Linked DNA regions of Homo sapiens: region 2 is linked to region 1. The links are contacts of gene promoters, found by promoter capture Hi-C in human tissues and cell types (Jung and others, 2019). All regions are on one chromosome and are shown on one strand. The core of a region is centred on a gene start or on the middle of the fragment in contact, and the rest is flanking DNA. Distances in the headings are between cores, read along the strand shown. Region 1 holds the start of CD40 (CD40 molecule). Region 2 overlaps CDH22 (cadherin 22).

Region 1 (3,787 bases), core at 260-2,759:
AGGCTCGGGAATCATGCAGATGTAGATTCACAACCAGGTTCTTCCATTAGCTAGCTATGAGACCTTTGGCAAGACAATCCCCCTTTCTGAGCCTCAATTTGCCCATCTGTATAATGGGGGAGTTGTGAGAAATCAGACAAAGAAAACAGGCAGTGTTTGGCTCAGAGCCTGACACACAAGAAGCCCTCAATAGATAGCTTCTGACATTGTTGTCACAGCCCAGCCTCTACCTGGAGCCAAAGTTGGGAGTTATGAGGGCAAACTCTGCTCTTGAGAAGCCTGGATCACACCCTTCACCCCACCTCCTCTGGCTCTTTCTCCACTCCTACCACAAGGGCCCCCCTTTACCTCTTTCCAGCTCCGCCCTCCCCCTGCCTCCCTGTTCCCTAAGAGCCATTGCTTCAGGTGAAAGTGAAAGCTGTGGGACCAAAGCAGCCTCCCCACTCCCTCTCTTCCCTTGCTGCTTCCCTTGCTTTCCTTGATACCATGGGTCATTCCTGCCCAGGCTTCAGGCAGGAATCTACAGCCCTCTAAAGTAGGGGGAGGCCAGAGGGGCTGGGATGAAGGAGCCAGGTACTTGGGGGATTCCCAGCCTCCAGAATGAGGAACTACAAAAATACATTTAAACAAAAAGTGAGTCAAGTGTAGGCTTCTGAAAATCCCGGAGATATGCTTGGTTGGCTCTGAGCCCCTCTGGTGCCTGGAGAAACCCCTGGTTTCTCCAGCCCTCTGATCACCAGCCCTGTCAGAGCCAACCAGAACTCTGGTCTCCTAACCCTTTATTGTGTCCCATAAACTGTTCATCTCCCCAGGGGTCTCCTATGTCATCTTAAATTCAGGAGAAAAAGGCAAAGCCCTGGGGATTCCTCCTAGGTTGGAACACCCAAGATACGGTTCGGGGTGGAAGGCGATGTTAAAAGCTCCTTGCCTTCTCACAAAAGTACCTGGGCCTCTGCACCCATCTCTTGTTCCCACAAGATGCCCTGGAAGAAGGCAGCCCCAGCTGGCAAGGAGATGATAACTACTTACAGAGGCTGGCATCTGTCCACAATAAGAAGGGGACAGGAAACGGGCCAGACCCGCCCCTTCCCTTGGTCCGCCTCACTTCCCGCCCTCTGAACCCCCTACCAGTCTCTGTGTGGCCAGCCTCTGAGGCTCCCTAAACCCGTCCAGGCCGTCTAGGCACGCTTGGGCAGCCAGTGCCTTCCCTGAGCGGCCCCTGTAGGCCGCTCCCGGGACCCCAGCCCGGGAGAAGAGAGAGGCAGCCCACCCCATTCAGCCAGGAGCGGGGGCACCTTGCCCAGCTCCCACCCACCCTCCTGCCCCCACAAAAATCAGCCAGGAAGGCCTCTTCCCCGAAGTCTTCCTTCCCTTTCCTTCTCATTCCCCACTCCCAACTCCCGTCTGGTCGGGGCAAAAACAACTCACAGCGGTCAGCAAGCAGCCCCAGAGGACGCACTGCAGAGGCAGACGAACCATAGCGAGGTGAGACCAGGCGGCAGGACCACTGGGCGCCCGAGCGAGGCCTCTGCTGACTCCCCTGCCCCAGCCTTGGCCCCGCCCAGGAAAGGGGCGGGGTCTTCAAAGACCAATCGCGGTCCACCTATCGGGGGGGCGGAGCCCCCAGCAATTCACCGCGCAGGAGTTTCCCCAGAACATTCCCACAAGTCTAATTCCCCCGGGAGTTTAGGGACGCATCTTGCTGTGTACGGGAGGAGGCATGGTCCCAGAGACAGCTCTTCTTCTTTGCCCCCAGGTCCCACAAAGGCCAAGCCGAGGCGGGCTAGGAGCTAGCCTGCTTCCTGCGACCGGAGAGAGATCCCATGGGTGCTGGGGCCTGCCACAGGGACCCTCACGGTTTTCCCCTCCCTGCCCCGCTCTCCGCTGCCTCTAGGTATCCTGGCAGAACCGAAAGAGGCTCCACTGCGGAGAGGCCTGAGGAAGTTCCCCCCACACCACCACGCAGAAAACGGGAAGGCCACAGCTGGGGTATGGGGAGGCGTTTCAAGGAAGAGTTTCCCAACTCAGAATTTCGCTCTCTTTCAAAGGAAATTCCCTCGTGTGGGCGCGTCGTCTCAACTTCCCATCCATTCATCCATGCATCCATGCGTCCTCACCTCATTCCATTCCATCCCACCTCCCACCCAGCACCTGGAGACAGGCATTTATTAAGAGTGGGGCCGGGCGCGGTGGCTCACGCCTGTAATCCAGCACTTTAGGAGGCCGAGGCGGGCAGATCACTTGAGGTCAGGAGTTCGAGACCAACCTGGCCAACATAGTGAAACTCCGTCTCTACTAAAAATACAAAAATTAACCGGATGTAGTGGCGTTCGCCTGTAATCCCAGCTACTCGGGAGGCTGAGGCAGGAGAATCGCTTGAACCGCAGAGGCAGAGATTGCAATGAGCCGAGATCGTGCCACTGCACTCCAGCCTCGAAGGCAGAGCAAGACTCAGTCTCAAAAAAAAAAAAAATAAATAATAAATAAAAATAAAAATAAAGGTGGGGGCCAGGCGCGGTGGCTTACGCCTGTAATCTAACACTTTGGAAGGCCAAAAAGGGAGATTGCTTGAGGCCAGGAGTTCAAGACCAGCCTGGCAACATGGCAAGACCCCCATCTCTACAAAATAAAGAAATTTTTAAGTTAGCCAGGCATGGTGGCAAACACCTGTAGTCCCAGCTACTCAGGAGGCTGAGGCAGGAGGATCGCTTGAGCTCAAGAAGTCAAGGTTGCAGTGAGCCATGATTGCAATGATTACATCACTGCACTTCAGCCTGGGCGACAGTGCAAAACTCCATCTCAAAAAAAAAAAAAGAGTGGGCCAGCCTTTTGTGGCATCATAAAACACTTTAAGTATGTTAGGAAACTCGGGACCCTCTCATTTTGCAGAAACACACACACTTGTGCCTACATTTCCTGGGTTCATGAACTCTGAAGACGTGCTTTTGTTTTTTTGTTTTTTGTTTCGTTTTGTTTTTTGGGTGTTTGTTTGGTTTTTGGTTTTTGGGTTTTTTTTGACAGAGTCTCATTCTGTTGCCCAGGCTGGAGTGCAGTGGCATGATCTCGGCTCACTGCAACCTCTGCCTCCTGGGTTCAAGCAATTCTCCTGCCTCAGCCTCCCGAGTAGCTGGGATTACAGGCTGGCGCCACCACGCCCAGCTAATTTTTGTATTTTTAGTAGAGACGGGGTTTCTCCACGTTGGCCAGGCTGGTCTCAAACTCCTGACCTCAGGTGATCCGCCTGCCTTGGCCTCCCAAAGTGCTGAGATTACAGGCATGAGCCACCGCACCTGGCCCTCAAGATGTTCTTGAACCAGTGTTAACACTCTGCTTTGCAGCATGGAACACCTGGGTTCTGGTGCAGCCTCTGCCTCTGAAGGACTGTGTTCCCTTAGGCCTAAATTTTTCTCCAAGGAAAACTTAGGAGCTTGAACTAGACAACGGTTGAGGTGATGACCCTCCAAGCTCTCAATTTCTGGAAGAGGACAAGAGGCCAGACCTCACAGATCAGGGAGGATGGAAGAGGAGGACACTTCTAACCCCATTCTCATGGCTTCTGCTGTTAAGGGCACATTTGCAAGTCTTGTGGATTCTGCCTCTAGGATCCATCCCTTATTTTCTGTCACCTCTGCCACTGCCCTAATTCAGAGGGTGCCATCTTTCATCTGGACTGTCCCAACAGCCTCTCTCATTCCACAGGATTTATTGAGCACCTACTATGTGCCAGGCAACTCTTTACACTGCTGCGATTCTCTTGATAAACTCCAGATCTGATCGACTGGGACAC
Region 2 (3,995 bases), core at 646-3,145, 170 kb before region 1:
GGTGAGACTGAGACCCCGGGGGATGCTGGGGAATAAGGCTTGAGGGCCAGGCGTGGTCAGATTTGGACCTCGACTCCCTGCCCAGCATCAGAGTGGGAGAGCTGAAAGAGCCAGGCAGCTGGGTTCAAATCCAGCTTGAGCATGTCCCTTTCCCTCTCTGAGCCCCCGTTTCCTCATCTTCTCTTTGAGTAAGAGAACACCTGCCTTCCAGGGTTGACAGGAAGATCCCATGAAAAGCATACAGTAAGTGCTCCATAATGTCTTAGTTTTCTCCCCTTTCTCTTTTCCTTGTAGAAAAACTCTCCCCACCACCTGCCAGCCCTCTCCAGGAAGGAGAAGCATTCAATCCACTTAAATGTTTATCGAGAATCTACAATTGTATTTGACATTTAAATTCCTGAAGGCCTGACAAAAATGCTGGGACAGACAGCCTGTCGTGCCCATTTTAGAGATTAGGAAACTAAGGCTCAGAGGAGGAAGAGACATGCCTAAGGTCACCCAGCTCAAAATCCACTACATGGGAGTCCCAAACGGGCAGAGATTGTATATATTTTAATCCACCACTGAGTACCCAGCACCTTGTCCAATGCCTGGTATGTCACAGGAGCACAATGTATATGTGTCAAATTGAAAACAAAAGGTGTCTGAACCCTGAATCTTGCCTCAGAGGTCCAATTCCCTTTCCATCATTTAATCTCAGTGGTAGAAACAGTCAGGAGACCTGGATTCTATCCCCAACTCTGAGGTAAGTTGCTTAAAGGGAACGTTGGATCAGATGACCGCAGGGCAGTTTCTTAACATCAGCACTACTGATATCTTAGGTTTGATAATTATTTTGTGTATGGGTGTTTGGGGGGAAGGTGTCCTGGGCACTTTGGAATGTTTAGCAACATTCCTGCCCTCCACCCACTAGATGCCAGTAGCAGCCTCTCAGTTGTGACAAGCGAAGATGTCTCCAGACGTTGCAAATGTCCCAAGGGTCGCAAGGTCCCCCCTGGTTGAGAAGCACTGCACTAGGGGCTTTCTCCAAACACACAAATTCTGCACAGCAGAGGTCTACATTGTGGTGGGGGAGTGGGGGAGACTTGGCCTGTGACCCAGGAAAAATGTCATGTTGACATTTTCACAAAGTCTCGTTTTCCCATTTGGCCTGTTCGAGAACAATTCTCCTTTGGCAGAGCCAATCACCAGGCAGTTCTGCTAACAATGCTGCAACCTGGTCCACAGACCGGATGGTCACGGCACATGCAAAGGCAAGCTTCCCAGAATGCAGCTAAACATGGGAACCAATGAGTCCCCACCAGGTACAGGGGCGAAAGAGAAGTCTGGGGCTGTTGGGGATGAATGAAGACCAGGAGTGATCAGCACTGGGTACAGTGGTCAGGTTGGGGGTCGGGGGAAAGCCTGAGCAGAGATGGAGAGGCAGGAATGAGTGCTGATGAGGAGTGAGGGAAAAATGATCTGTGCCCATCCCAGAAGGACAAACACCTTTCAGACTTTCCCTCCCATTTTCCCACCTAGTAAAGCTGCACTATCTCGGCAGGAGACAGTTTCTCCTGGCTCCAAGTCATCCCCTCCATGCCTCCTTCCCACTGGGACTCCTTACACAGAGGCGGCCTGGAGGGACAGAAATGGCGTGCTTTGGTGTCAGACACCATGGGTTCCAGTTTCAGATGGGAATCTACAGCCCTGTGGCCTTGGCTCACATGACAAAGAGAAATATTAAAAATACTGAGCCACTGGACCAGCATACTCACTGATCAATCAGAACAGGTGACAGTTGAAAACAACTGACAGGGCTAGCTGAACATCGGCCCCACCTCTGAGTCTGCACCTCCACCTCTGTACATCTACCTCCTGGGGCTGTCAGGTGAAATGGAGAGAAAGCAGCCAGCACAGCAGCTTGCATACAGCAGGGATTCAATAAATGTTCCTTGGCTTCCCCCAAAGATCCCAGAAGGTGTTGAGGTCTGAATTTTCTGCAGTGGGTCCCTGCAAAGACATCATTCTTTCCAGATGTTGAGGAAAGTTGTGAACCGCTTCTTCCAGCCAGGGCTTAGGAGCAGGGAGGCTGAGAACGATGGTCTGGGTGCAAAGACGAACTGCAATCAGGGTTCACTGATCACCTTTGTCCCCCTGGTGGTCTTTGTCCTGCCCAGGGACTCTGGCACACCTTCCTGTCATGCACTCCAGGAAGATCTGGGTCTGTGCGTCAGACCCGGGCCAGCCAGCCCCCTCTCGGTGTGTATAGGCAGCTTGTCACTACAAAATCCATTTTCTTATCTCCTGCCATATCTATTTTTCTAATTCTTACTTAACGAGCTCCCCTGAAAATAAGAAAATCATTGGAACAATTTCCTTAAGTGTGAAAGATTAGTCTGAAGTCGGCATTAAGGGGACTAATTACCTTCATTCTCCCACCTTTCCGACAGCCGTTTGTTAGCTGTGAGGACTCATTCATCTGCTGCTCAGGGAAGTCAGGCAACATTTGGCTGTGGTGGGATCCTCCGCTCCTGCTTTGGCTCACGGGGTGTGTGTATGCGTGTGGTGTGTGTGCATATGTGTGTGTGTGAGACAGAAACAGAGAAATGGATTGGGGAGCAGAAAAGTGCAGAAAGGCCCGGGACTCCATGTGAAGCTGCTCTCTGGGACTCTTTGGTGATGGCGGTGGGGGTGGGGAGGGTAGACATCCAACTCAGAATCAGGGGTGGGTGGATACCTGGGGAGGTGCTGGCATGAGCCAGACACACATGGTCTGCCAAGCTCCTAGAGGTCTGGATTCCCTGCCGCTGACTCACTGAATGACTATGGGGAAGTCTCTGTGACTGCAGGCCTCAGTTTTCTCATCTGTAAAATGAGGGTCATTTCTTGTAACTACGGTAATGACAGCAATATCCAGCTTCCATGGAGGGCAGGCATCGCATAGTGATTCCACCCCCTCTTCATCCTCACCATAGCCCCGGGGGCAGTTCCTATCATTACTGCAGTGTACGGATGGGAAAGTGGAAGACCAGAGATGTTAGGGAACGTGTCCCAGGTCACGCAGCTGGAATCGGAATCTGAGTCTGTGTAATTCTGGAGCTCATGTCCTGTCCACTCTACTCAGACTCCAGACCTCCCCCTGCTCCCAGAATGCATTCCCAGTGCACTTGGAGGCTGAAGACATAGGTTCCAACCCCAACTCGAGCTTGCACCACTTGTGTGACCAGAGGTACATCCAGGCATCTCCTCTGTAAAATGGAGACAGTTATGCTTCTTGCCATAACTGGATGTGGGGGGCACCCCATGCCGTACTGCATGCTGTAAACAAAAATGAAAGGATGTGGAAGCAAAGGATGGCAGTGGAGGAGGGCCAGGAAGAGGCGAGAGCTGCACAGAGTCTGTGGAAGCCCTGGGCCATGAACCTGGGTCTCTGGACTCCAGGCTCCCCTAGACCTGGCCAGCTGCTCCCACTCCTGTCCCTAGCTTTGAAGAGCCCGCCTTCCTGAACAAAGCTCTGAGCAGCAAGGAGGCTTGTGACGAGGGAGCAAGTTGACAAATGGTGACGCCCAGAATTAGGCAGGGATTACGGGTTCCAGCGTCCAGGCCTGCACCTGGTATGGGGGAGGGGCAATCACCCACCCACCCTTCCCTCCCCCGGGGGAGAACTCACTGGGGGAGGCGGATAAGCTCTGAGAAGACGACGGGAACATCTTCCATTTTCCATTTAACCACCCGATATTGAATTATAAATAATTCATACACCTGCCAAACATTTGATTAAAAGAACCCAATTCGCACTGCATTTGTCAAGGGGTAAGAATTGCATTTGGTGTTTTTATTTTAATCTGTCCTTTAACTCTTTTACGAATATTTATTTACACTTGGCTGTCAGGTTTTATTCTATTTGCCCTGATTTTATTCTGGCTGTAGCTGGCATTTTTTCCTTTCCCTTTTTATTTTGTCACTTCTGCCTAGTAGTCATGCATTTGAGAGCCCAGAGGTAATAAATAAGG

Evidence for each region. The method cuts DNA at HindIII sites, captures the fragments that hold promoters and counts their contacts. A contact is called where the count stands out against the background at its distance.
Region 2: a fragment that was not itself captured here is called in contact with the fragment with the promoter of CD40 in region 1 in 2 of the 25 tissues and cell types used here (liver and pancreas).

The regions. Positions count from the first base shown.
Region 1 is chr20:46,116,036-46,119,822 of GRCh38, reverse strand. It overlaps CD40 (CD40 molecule), which reads right to left and starts at 1,509. Exons shown (of 9, transcript NM_001250.6): 1 at 1,429-1,509. The coding sequence starts at 1,479. RefSeq lists enhancers at 287-636, 1,647-1,706, 1,472-2,288, a silencer at 1,511-1,730 and a cis regulatory region at 230-2,327. The HindIII fragment of the contact is 12,179 bases long and covers 1-3,787 here.
Region 2 is chr20:46,282,394-46,286,388 of GRCh38, reverse strand. The region is part of intron 1 of CDH22 (cadherin 22); the gene reads left to right. Among named protein-coding and RNA genes, the nearest start is that of CDH22, 24 kb to the left of the region's middle. The HindIII fragment of the contact is 8,751 bases long and covers 1-3,995 here.